Regions from separate parts of the Homo sapiens genome. Here region 1 is linked to region 2. The links are contacts of gene promoters, found by promoter capture Hi-C in human tissues and cell types (Jung and others, 2019). All regions are on one chromosome and are shown on one strand. The core of a region is centred on a gene start or on the middle of the fragment in contact, and the rest is flanking DNA. Distances in the headings are between cores, read along the strand shown.

The links. Contacts are between HindIII fragments. The study calls those that stand out against the background at their distance.
Region 1: the fragment with the promoter of ZCCHC8 here is called in contact with the fragment with the promoter of DDX55 in region 2 in 1 of the 25 tissues and cell types used here (hippocampus).

What each region holds. Positions count from the first base shown.
Region 1 is chr12:122,496,430-122,503,022 of GRCh38, forward strand. It overlaps ZCCHC8 (zinc finger CCHC-type containing 8), which reads right to left and starts at 4,503. Exons shown (of 14, transcript NM_017612.5): 1 at 4,213-4,503; 2 at 2,398-2,440. The coding sequence starts at 4,411. RefSeq lists enhancers at 3,471-4,162, 4,163-4,856, 4,352-4,431, 4,632-4,691, 4,742-4,921 and 1 more and a silencer at 4,062-4,211. The HindIII fragment of the contact is 12,081 bases long and covers 1-6,593 here.
Region 2 is chr12:123,597,370-123,603,595 of GRCh38, forward strand. DDX55 (DEAD-box helicase 55) reads left to right here and starts at 4,730. Exons shown (of 14, transcript NM_020936.3): 1 at 4,730-4,887. The coding sequence starts at 4,780. It overlaps TMED2 (transmembrane p24 trafficking protein 2), which reads left to right. Exons shown (of 4, transcript NM_006815.4): 4 at 1-1,213. RefSeq lists a silencer at 5,092-5,201 and an enhancer at 5,442-5,491. The HindIII fragment of the contact is 15,410 bases long and covers 1-6,226 here.

The DNA.
Region 1 (6,593 bases), core at 3,253-5,752, 1.1 Mb before region 2:
TTGAACTCGGATAAAAATCACCCAATTTAAGATAAATATTAAATGTTTAAATGAATGACTCCATTAGAAAGTGTAAACTTATCTAAATAAAACATCTTTAACATATAAAAATTATGACTTTTATGAGGAATCCTAGTTATATTTAATATATTGAATACCTAATCAAAATTTAGTTTATTTTATTAAGCCTCCCATGTAGCTGAGACCAGAGGAACATGCCACCACATCCAGCTAATTTTTAAAAATTTTTTGTAGAGACAGAGTCTCACCATGTTGTCCAGACTGGTCTCCCACTTCTGGTCTCAAGCAGTCCTCCCAAAGTGCTGAGATTACAGGTGTGAGCCATTGTGCCCAGCCAAAAATGAGTTTAGATACACAAAGTTAGCTCACATAGAGAAAAAAGGGTGAGATATGAGGAAGTTAATTTGAAATATTGGCCGGGTGCGGTGGCTCCTGCCTGTAATCCCAGCACTTTGGGAAGCCGAGGCGGGCAGATCATGATGTCAGGAGATCAAGACCATCCTGGCCAACACGGTGAAACCCCATCTCTACTAAAAATACAAATAAATTAGCCGGGCCTGGTGGCAGGCACCTGTAGTCCCAGCTACTCAGGAGGCTGAGGCAGGAGAAAGCAGAATCGCTTGAACCCAGGAGGTGGAGGCTGCAGTGAGCCGAGGTCATGCCACTGCACTCCAGCCTGGGCGACAGAGCGAGACTCCATCTCAAAAAAAAAAAATCTGAAATATTTCTAAATTCTAAAATTTAAACCTGTAGTCACCACTGCAGCCAGTTATTCCAACTGGTGCCAGGGACTAAAAAGTTCATGTGAGGCCAGGTGCAGTGGCTCATGCCTGTTAATTCCAGCACTTTGGGAGGTTGAGGTGGACAGATCACTCGAGGCCAGGAGTTCGAGACCAGCCTGGCCAACATGGTGAAGCCCCATCTCTACTAAATATATAAAAATTAGCCGAGTGTGGTAGTGGGCACCTGTAATCCCAGCTATTCGGGAGGCTGAGGCAGGAGAATTGCTTGAACCCGGGAGGTGAAGGTTGCAGTGAGCTGAGATAGTACCACTGCAGTCTAGCCTGGGAAACAGAGTAACACTCTGTCTCAAAAAAATTAAAAAATATAATAAAAAAGTGCATGTGAAATTACATCATGGCACCTCCAAATTCTGAAAGCTTGAAAATATAATTTCTCATAATCTGTACTTTAACAAATACTTTAGATTAGTGACCTGTTAAATAAATATATATTTTGAGATACCAGTAATATCTCTGTTAAAGTTAGGTGCCTAGGCTGGGCATGGTGGCTCATCCCTGTAATTCCAGCACTTTGGGAGGCCTAGGCAGAAGGATCACTTCAGGCCAGGAGTTTGAGACCAGCTTGAGTAACACAGCAAGACCCTGACTCTATCAGAAAAAAAAAAAGTAGCTGGGTGTGGTGGTGTCTGCCTGTAGTCCCAGCTATTTGGGAGGCTGAGGCGGGAGGATCAAGGTTTCAGTGAGCTATAATTGCAACACTGTACACCAGCCTGAGTGACAGAGTGAGATCTTGTCTCAAACAAAAACAAAAACATAAAATCAGATGCCTAAATGCAAATCTACACACTTTATCTTTTTCAAAAGCACATTACTTTTTCTTCTAAAATGCTGATTCTTTCATTGTTCTATTTATGAACACATTTTAACTATGTAAATAAATCTTCAGCTAGAGTAATACTGTAATCTTTTTTTTTTTTTTTTTCAGACGGAGTTTCGCTCTTGTCACTCTCAGCTCACTGCAACCTCTACCTCCCGGGTTCAAGGGATTTTCCTGCCTTAGCCTCCCAAGTAGCTGGGATTACAGGCGCCCACCACGTCCAGCTTATTTTTGTAATTTTAGTAGAGACAGCGTTTCACCACGTTGCCCAGGCTGCTCTCGAACTGACCTCAGTTGATCCGCCCACCTCGGCCTCCCAAAGTGCTGGGATTACAGGCGTGAGCCACTGCCCCTGGCCCATTATACTATAATTTTTTTTTTTAGGTGCTGGAATTACAGGCATGAGCCACCAGACCCAGCCAATATTGTAATCTTAATTCTAACTTTCTAGAAATGTTTGTTAAATAGGAATAGCTAGGTTAACAACTTGCCTATTCTGAACATTAAGTAAACATTTTCTGGATTTTGTTTCATCCTTTCATCCAATAAATGAGCTTACAATTTTAATCCACTTATGAGAATTCAGACCTTATCCCCACAATTAAATAACTATTACTTTGATTTCTTCAGAGTATGCTAAACAAATAAAAATGATACAAAAATCCCATACACTTTTTACAACGAAATTCTGATTAAATATTAATATCAGGATAAATAATAAGGGACAACTATGGAGTAATTTCAAAAATCTCATACCTCGGTCGAGTCAGAATGTTCAATTTTCGTTTAAGTTCTTGATGTTATTATTTGTTAAGGAAGATAAGCCCTCATTTAACAATGCAAATCATAAAATTCAACTACTACTTCTCTCACTTTTGGTGTCAGAATATTATAAAGACAAAAGACCCACGGATATTTTGAGGATGACACACTTATTGAGCTTCTATTTTGTTGCAGGGGTAGGCTTTTGAAACCCAAAATTAAAGTACGGTTTTTATCCTTTCGAACATATATTCTAAGACACGATCCTGAAGTTCAACAGACTAACAAACTGAACCAAAACCATTATTGAAGCATCAGTGTTCCTGTCAAACCTTTCAACAACCACTATGTGATAAAGAGAATGCAGTATAACGAGCTGTTAACAACTTTAGAATTTGGAATAAATCTATGGATGTCCACTGTAGAATCCTTTCAACTTTTTTTTTTTTTTTTTGAGACACAGTCTCACCCTGTCGCCCAGGCTGGAGTGCAATGGTGTGATCTTGGCTCACTGCAACCTCCGCCTCCCAGGTTCAAGGGATTCTCCTGCCTCAGCCTCCTGAGTAGCTGGGATTACAAGCACGCGCCACCACGCCCGGCTAATTTTGTATTTTTAGTAGAGACGGGGTTTCACCATGTTGGCCAGGCTGACCTCCTGATCCTCATGATCCACCTGATCCTCATGATCCTCCTGACCTCATGATCCACCCGCCTCGGCCTCCCAAAGTGCTGGGATTACAGGCTTGAGCCACAGCGCCCGGCCTCAACTTTTTGTATTCTGAAAATTTTCCTCACAATGTGGAGGAAGACGACATTCTGAAAAAATAAATCGCGCTTCACAAACCTTAAAAACTGATATACTGACTGGGCGCCGTGGCGGGCGCCTGTAATCCCAGCTATTCGGGAGGCTGAGGCAGGAGAATCGCTTGAACCCGGGAGGCGGAGGTTGCAGTGAGCCGAGATCGCGCCACTGCACTCCAGCCTGGGCAACAGACTGAGACTCCATTCCCCGACCCCGTCCCCCTAAAAAAGCTAACATATCAGCCACTTTCAGTTCTCTACAAATTTTAAAAGGAAAACTACCCGAACCAAAGTTATCTATCTACCTATAAAACTCTACGAACGTAAAAAAAAACATACTAGCAAATCAAGAAAAATCTGCAATCTTGTAACTCAAGTCTAACAGAAACTTCTTTGGCGCGTTTTCCTCAAGGCGTTGCAAAGCATCTTCAGCACAGAAGCGAGCTCCGAGTGGAAGAACTCTAAAATTAATCCCCAATTTTAATCAAGCAATTAACCAATTATCTCAGCACACCCGGATTCCTTGAGGCCCCCAACTCTGCATTCTGGGACCACTAGCGTTTGCCCCGGTATAAAAACCGATCCCGCGTCTAAGCAGCCGGTATTTCATCACCTACAACTGTAACATGACGGCACAATTTGAGCGTGGCTGCGAAATATGAAACCTCACCACGACCTCAAACAGAGGGGGGCAATTAAGGGCTTGTGTACAATCTGTCAGGTGAGCAGCCTAAAATAACCCTAAACACGGCACCCGGGTGGGAGGCAGGAGTGGGTCTGGTCAGGAGACGGCCTCCCTGAGGGGAAGAGGTCTGCGCCGAGGCAGCCTGCGCGCCCCGAACCCTAGACTCTCGGTCCGCCGGCGGGTGACAGAAAGCACTTGGAATTCTGGCCCTCCTGGAACTTCCGCCCGCGCCCTCGCCCTCGCCCGGCGCTGCCCCGGCCCCACGCCTGGCGCTGCCCCGGCCCCACACCCGGGTGACAGGGCCCAGCGAGAGGAAAGGATATTCTCGGCGCGGAGCTGCTCGATGGTCTCCTCGCACTGCCGAAGCCGCTCCCGTAGCTCCGCGTCGCCGACCCCATTTTCGTCCTCCTCGTCGCCGTCGTCGTCCTTGAAGCGAGTGTGAACGGGCTTCGGAATCGACTCCTCTGGGTGGTCGAACGGCTCGAAGAGCTCTAGATCGCCAAAATACACCTCTGCGGCCATTTTGGGCTGTGGAAAAGATTCGAGAAGAGGCGGAGCCGGCCACCAGGGCTTGGGGAAGAAGGTTGGAAGGCGGCACCACTCTCTAGAGCTCTGGCCGCACGGAGCCACCCGCTAGGGTTTTCTCCAGACGCAGGCCGCGAAAGCTGCACACGGGGCGGGGCCAGTCGCTAGAGACTACAACTCCCGGAATGCAGCGGGGCCTATCGGGCTTGCGATTGCCCGGAGGACGGCATGCTGGGACGTGTGGTTTCTAAGCGACTGGTACTCATTGTCTGCATTGCATCCTGGGATTGGTGCTTTTTGAAATGTGAAGAAAGCTGGAGTAGGTCAGAATGCGCTAAAGCAATCTGGGGGCAGGGCGGGGTGGCTCACACCTGTAATACCAACTACTCGGGAGGCAGAGGTGGGAGGATCACGTGAGCCCAGGAGTTGGAGACCACCCTGGGCAACAGAGCGAGACCCAGACACTACAAAAAAATATAAAAATTAGCTGGGCGATTGTAGTCCCAAGTACTCGGCAAGCTGAGGCGGGAGGGTTTGAGCCCAAGAGGTCGAGGCTGCATTGAGCCCAGATGGCGCCACTGCACACCAGCCTGGGAGACAAAGCAAGACCCTGTCTCAAAAAGAAAAAGAAAAACAAAAACCAGTATGGGATGTTCCTGTTAGGCAACTAAGGGTGAAAAATCAGAGCACGACGCATAGCTTCTCACAGATTCTGGTGTGCGTGCCACACCAGAGAATAAGGAACTCCATAGCCTGAAAGGGAACTGAATAAAAATAAACATAAAAGAGAATAAGAAACTCCAGCTTTGCTACAGAGATGACTGTTGTAGATTAGTTTATTGAGCTTGCTTCGTTTTTAATGTAAGATTAGCTAGACTCAACTATTTGTCTGTTGAGGCTTTCTGTCATTCAATCACATTATTTACTTACACCTTCGATGGGCCAGGCACTTGTCTAGGACCTGAGTATGGTTACAAGAGTAACCACAATAGAGTAATTCCTCCTCTCACGAAGGCTGTAGTCCACAAAAAGCAACAAAAACCCCATAATTATAAATGTTCCTGTTCTTGGGTCGAGATGGTTGTTGATGGATATTGATCACACAAAGAAATGTGGGCCGGGGGCGGTGGCTCACATCTGCAACCCCAGCACTTTGGGAGGCCGAGGCAGGTGGATCACGAGGTCAGAAATTCAAGACGAGCATGACCAACATGGAGAAACCCTGTCTCTACTAAAAATACAAAAATTAGCCAGGCGTAGTGGCACACGCCTGTAATCCCAGCTACTCAGGAGGTTGAGGAAGGAGAATCGCTTGAACCCGGGAGGCAGAGGTTGCAGTGAGCCGAAATCGTGCCACTGCACTCCAGCTTGGGCGACAGAGCAAGACTCTGTCTCAAAAAAAAAAAAAAAAAAAAAAAGGTGAAAAACACAGGAAGTTATGAATATTTAACAAACACCCTAGTCTGTGGGAGTCAGTAAAGTGAGGAAGTGAGACTTTAAGGATCGGCAAAGTTGGGGGTGGGAGGATGGAAGAGTGTCTTAGGTGTAAGGACCACCATGTTGAGTGAAAAGGCAGAGTGGAGCAAGATGAGGTTGGAACACTGCTAGGTCAGTGCTCAAAGGCCCTTAAGGAAGCCTCTTTCCGTTTACAACATTGGGAAGTCACTTACACATTTTAACATTTTTTTTTTCTTTTTGTGGACAACAGGATCTCCCTATATTGCCCAGGTAGGTCTTGAACTTCTGAGCTAAAGCTATCCTCCTGCCTCTGCCTCCCTAAATACTGGGATTACAGGAATGACCCACTGTGCCTGGCCATTTAAATTTTTTTTTTTTGAAATTTTATTTTTTGAGACAGAGTCTCACTGTGTCACCCAGGCTGGAGTGCAGTGGCATGATCTCGGCTCACTGCAACCTCCGCCTCCCAGGTTTACTTTCACTGAAAAATCTGCATGAGGCCTGGCGTGGTGGCTCACGCCTGTAATCCCAGCACTTTGGGAGGCCCAGGCGGGTGGATCATGAGGTCAGGAGTTCAAGACCAGCCTGGCCAACATGGTGTAACCCGGGAGTTCAAGACCAGCCTAGCTGACATAGTGAAACCCCGTCTCTACGAAAAATACAAAAATTAGCCGGGCGTGGTGGCGGGTGCCTGTAATTCCAATTACTCAGGAGGCTGAGG
Region 2 (6,226 bases), core at 3,480-5,979:
AAGCAGCTAATAACCATTTCTGGGTTTCTGCCTAACCCCCTAATTGTCTGTTAAAGCCAATTCTCTGGGTGTCCCAGTGAGTGGTGGCTTTTTTTCTTTCCACATTGGCACATTCACTTCTCCCACTCTTGGCATGTAAGAAATAAGCATTTACATAATTGGAAAAATCTGGATTTCTGATGCCAAAGGGTTAAAGCTTCTTGGATTTCATTTCATTGATATACAGCCACTATTTTATTTTTGATCAGTGGCCTTTGGGCCACTGTTCAGGGTACTGACCATCAGTGTCAGCATTAGGGTTTTGGTTTTTGTTTCTTTTGGGTCTTTCTTTTTTGGCACATGTGAATCTTGTTTTGTGTAAAATGAAATTACTTTCTCTTGTTCTCTGATGATGGGTTTAAAATTAAAAGAGCATCCGGTTTTGGTATGGGGATGATCCAGGATTATGTTGTGACTGATACATATTAGTTACTTGTGCTTTTTTTTTTTTTTTTGGATCTTTGCAAGGGCAAAACTACAAGTAACGAGTTTTATATAATTAATTTAAATTTGTTACAGGTTTTCATGTTCAGGATAAACCATACTTCCACCTTGGGTGAGAACACTTGCAACAGTTTATTAATGAGGTGACTTTCACCTTAGGACAACTGTTGCATGCCAAGTTTTTTGTGTGTGTGAAACACTTCAAAACTGATTTAAAAGATGTAAATTTAAAATTGGTTGTATCTAATATGCCCCAGGTTCGGTAAATAAACAATTCTTTTTAAAAACAGTATTCTGTGTTTTATATATTGACAGCTAATCCACATTTTTTACACACCAACTTTCTGTTCTTATTTGACATGAGACATGTTCATGTTTTCTGAGTATTTATACCTATTACGTCTGTTACTTTTTAATTCTATAAACTTGAGGATAGTGAATGGTACCAAGTTTTAGTTTCTGCGTAGGTTTTCCAGTGTGGCTTCTCTGATGGATCAGTGCTAAAATCTTAAGTATTTTTCTATTTGGGAAAAAAGGGTTGAATTATTTTCACTTGCCCACGTAGTTTATGAATGTGGGAAATAGCTTCAAAGACAGATTAAATGATTTGCCCAAGGCCACAGAAAAGAGTGAAAGGTGGAACCGGAGACTAGATCACCACCTGTAGAAACTGTTCTTCCTCTGTGAAACTAACGGCCTGCTGGTAATAAAAGTAGCTACCATTTCTTGAGTACTGTGTAATGTCTCGATCTAGTACTAAGCACTTTACTTGGTCTGTCTTATTCATGCTTCAAAACTGCCATTACCTTGGGTAAAACCATTTTGGAAGTGAGGAGGAAAACAGGCTTGGAAAGGGTCTTAAGGTCAGAAAACTAGTAGGTAGTAGAGCCCAGAAGACACACACAGATATGTAATTTCCCTGTGCCTTTGCTTTCAGAACTGTCTGTGAAGTCTCCCACCTTTTCTTTTTTTGGAGACAGGATCTCACTCTGTTCCCAGGTTGGCTTGATCTCTGCTCACTGAAGCCTCAACCTCCCGGGCTCAAGTGATCCTACCACCTCAGCTCTCCAAGTAGCTGGGACTACATTTTTTGTTTTTTAAAGACAGGGTCTTGCTTTGTTACCTGGACTGGAGTGCAGTGGCACAAACATGGCTCACTGGAGCCTTAACCTCTCAAGTGATCCTCTCATCTCAGCCTCCCGAGTAGCTGGGACCACAGGCATGCACCACCACGCCTAGCTAATTAAAAAATTATTTTTGTAGAGGCAGAGTCTCCTGTATGTTGCCCAGGCTGGCCTCATTCTCCTGGGCTCAAGTGATCCTCCTGCCTCAGCCTCCCAAAGTGTTGGGATTGCAGACATGAGCCACCGTGCCTAGCCGAAGTCCCATTTTATAAAAGTTGTCAAAGGTGTTTTGAGAATGTGATGATCATTTCACTGAAAATGTGGCTTCAGGCTGTTGTCTTTTACTTAATTTGAGATGACTGCAGTCTGCATGAGTTGTATTCCCATTTATCAATCCCACAAATATTTGAGTGATTGCTGTGTGCTACAGTGATAGTCCTTGGGATAAAGAAGATAGAGAAAAGACCCTATTAGTGTGGGTTTTACATTTTGGTGGCAGAGATGAACCTAATAAGTTTTGTGTGTGTGTGTGTGTGTTTGTGTGTGTGTGGCGAGAAAGAGATAATGGTAAATGCTAAGAAGGGAACATAAATCAAGGTAGGAGTTTCAGTGATACAGAAAGGAAGGTAACAGAAGTTGATTTCAAAAGTCCAAGTGGAATGTAAGGGAGTGTAAGGGAAAACTTCCCCTTTGCTCTCAGGTTTCTCTAAAAATTCAACTGAAAATAGGCAGATTAATAGGAGGAAAGTGATACAAATTTATTCGGTCATGCTTTTACATGACAAAGGAACCTTCAGAATTAAGACCCAAAGTTACAGGGAAAACTATTTTTATGCTTAGGCTCAACAAAATATGCACAGCTGAGTAGAAATAGGACTGGACAAGAAGGGCATGATCTAATGCTCATAGACTGAGTGGGGAAGCCCAGCGAGGCCTGTCTGGATTCTTTCCTTCTGGATAGGGGAAAGAACCCTTCCTGGAATGGGGTCTTACAACCTACCAGCAAAACAAAGGAGGTCAGATACATTTTTTTTTTTTTTGGAGACAGTCTCTCTCTGTCACCCAGGGTGGAGTGCGGTGGCGCGATCTTGGCTCACTGCAGCCTCCGCCTCCCGGGTTCAAGCAATTCTCCTGCCTCAGCCTCCCAAGTAGCTGGGAATACAGGCGCACGCTGCCACATCTGGCTAATTTTTTTTTGTATTTTTAGTAGAGACGGGATTTCACCGTCTGGTCTCGAACTCCTGAGCTCAGGCAATCTGCCCGCCTTGGCCTCCAAAAGTGCTAGGATTACAGGTGTGAGCCACCACGTCTGGCCTTTTTTTGTTTGTTTGTTTGTTTGTTTGTTTGTTTTTTGAGACTGAGTCTCACTCTGTCGCCCAGGCTGGAATGCAATGGTGCGATCTAGGATTACTGCAGCCTCCACTTCTCAGGTTCAAGCGATGCTTGTAGCTCAGCCTCCGGAGTAGCTGCAGGCACCTGCCACCACACCTGGCTAATTTTTTGTATTTTTAGTAGACAGGGTTTCACTACGTTGGCCAGGCTGGTCTCAAACTCCTTACCTTAGGTGATCCGCCTGCCTCAGCCTCCCAAAGTGCTGGGATTACAGGCATGAGCCACCGCACCTAGCCCAGATAATTTCTTTTTCTTTTTTTTTTTGAGACTGAGTCTCGCTTTGTCACCCACGCTGGAGTGCAGTGGCGCAACCTCCACCTCCCTGGTTCAAGCGATTCTTCTGCCTCAGGCTCCTGAGTAGCTGGGACTACAGGCATGCGCCACCACGCCTGGCTAATTTCTGTATTTTTAGTAGAGACGGGGTTTCACCATATTGGCCAGGCTGGTCTCGAACTCCTGACCTTGAGATCTGCCCGCTTTGGCCTCCCAAAGTGGTGAGATTACAGGCGTGAGCCACCGTGCCAGGCCAATAATTTCTTTATGGCCAGTTTTTTCACAGAAAGGTGGAGAGAGAGTAATATTTTTAGGTTTTATGGCTGACTGTGGAGAAAAGGGATTCCTGTTTCTATGCTCCGTCATGGGCAAGAGGGATTCTTGAGTTTCTATGGCTAGCCTCAGAGAATCAGAGATCAGAGAGGGAGCAGAAGGTCAGAGAGAAACTTGCTTCTGAGGCTGCCTCTGGGGCCTTCATTTTGGGGTTTCGTTTTCAGAGCCTCAACAGGAGCAAGCCATGCACATAGGTGGAGGAGATAGGCCCTCATAGAGGGCACATAATGAGTGGTCAATAAAAGTTTGCTGAGTGAAGGCCGGGCGCGGTGGCTCACGCCTGTAATCCCAGCACTTTGGGAGGCCGAGGCGGGCGGATCACGAGGTCAGGAAATCGAGACCATCCTGGCTAACACGGTGAAACCCCGTCTCTACTAAAAATACAAAAAATTAGCCGGGCGTGGTGGAGGGCGCCTGCAGTCCCAGGTACTCGGGAGGCTGAGGCAGGAGAAGGGCGTGAACCCGGGAGGCGGAGCTTGCAGTGAACCGTTATAGCGCCCAGCCTCCAGCCTGGGCAACAGAGCGAGACTCCGTCTCAAACAACAACAACAACAACAACAACAACAAAAACAGCTTTCTGAGTGAAGTTGTATGTGGACATGAATGGCCCAGGCAAACAGTGAACAGAGGAATGGGACAGTGTTCTTAGTTAGGACTCTGACCCTAACTTCCGGGAAAGTAAACCAACATTCAGGACGTACCGGCCATCGGACCGCAACATTCAGGACGTACCGGCCATCAGCGGGTGCCTGTTTTGCAGGGCTGCTAACCCGGGTCCCCGACACGTTTCTCTGCCCACGGTAGCCAGCCCCGCTGTCCTTCGGCCTGGACGCGGTCCTGTGCTGCCACCTGCCTCCGAGGGGCAGAGAAAGTGGGAGGGCCGGGCCAGAATCCCTCCCGCCAAAACTCCTGCCCGGTGCGGAGAGGCGCCCGGAGCCCAGGGCGCTGTGCGGAGCGGGTGTAACTCCCCAGGCCTGCCCCGCCGCCTGCCTCCACCGTCCCGCGGACGCCTTTCCTCCCTCCCGCGGCGTGGGAGCCTTCGCCGCGCTCCGGAACTCTGCTGCTCCAGCGAAGTTCCCGGCCGGCCGCTGGAGCTGCGGGAAGCGGAAGTGCTCGTTGGGGGTGCACAAGGCGCGTTCGAGCAGCGGCGACCGACGCGGCGAAGGAGCGCGCCATGGAGCATGTGACAGAGGGCTCCTGGGAGTCGCTGCCTGTGCCGCTGCACCCGCAGGTGCTGGGCGCGCTGCGGGAGCTGGGCTTCCCGTACATGACGCCGGTGCAGGTATCGGTTCCCTGGCGTGGGGGAGTGAGGCTGGGAGAGGGGCAGGCACCCGCTGCATCGGACCCACAGGAGGTGATCGGACAGATCTGAGCCCTGGGGCGCTCATCCCTCCAGCTGGGGCTCTTGCCTTGTCTCCAGCTGCCCAGACTGGCGGAATGCGGAGCTGCCCGGCCAGCGAGCCGGCAGAGGGGCCGCGACCCACCCCGCCCTCGGGTGCTGTGGTCTCAAGCCTGGTTCTCATCCTGGCCCTGCTCGCTGTAGCTGTGAGACCTCGGGCAAATGGCTTAACCTCTCCGTGCTTCATTTTCCTTCTCTGTGAAATGACGAAAAAATAACACCCTCCTTATGGGGTTGCTGTGGGGACTAAATAAACCAGTCGGCACACTATGGGAGCTCAGTAAGGGTTACCGTTGTTATGCATCTCTTCAAGAATATTTCTTGAGGACCTGCTATGTGTCAGGAACTCTTCTAGGCTCTGGGGAGTTTGCAGTATTGGCATCTGCTCATAGCCTTACTTTCTAGTGCAAGAGCTAGAGAAAGGATAATTTCAGCTGCTGGTAAGTGTTATGAAAGAACTAAGACGGTTGTGATAGTGTCGCGCGAGGACTGCAGAGGAGGTGAGATAGGGTGTTAAGGAAGGCCTCTCTGAGGAGGTGCATTGAGCTGAGACCTCAGTGATTGAGAAGGAGCTGGCTCTGAGGTGACTAGGGGGAGATTATTCCACTGGAGAGAAATACCAGTGCACATAAATGCCCTGCGGCAGGCTGCAAATAGTTTGAGCAGCAGAAAGGAGGCCTTTGTGGCTGAACATCAAGAGTAGTGTAAGAGATGGATTGTGCAGGGTCTTGTAGGCGCTTGGATTTCATTCTAAATGTAGTGGGAAGCCATCTTATCTGGGAGGATGTTTAGGAAGGGAAGGGCTGTGATTTCTCTGTAGAGAGTGGCCTTTCCAGGCATAAGAGATGAAGCAGGCAGGTCGCTTAGGAGGCCATTGTCAGGTAAGAGATGATGGTGACTTGGAGTAGGGTGGAACCAGTGGATACTGAGAAGTCACATTTGGGATAGCTTTAAGGTTGCTAAGGGACTGGAAGTGGAGGTTAGGAAAGAAAAGACTACAGGACCTGAGGTTTTTATTCTTTTTTTTTTTTTTTTTGAGATGGAGTCTCGCTCTGTTGCCCAGGCTGGAGTGCAGTGGCGCGATCTCGGCTCACTGCAACCTCCGCCTCCTGGGTTCAAGCAATTCTCTGCCTGAACCTCCCAAGTAGCTGAGATCACAGGTGCCTGCCACCATGCCCGGCTAATTTTTTGTATTTTTAGTAGATACGGGGTTTCACCATCT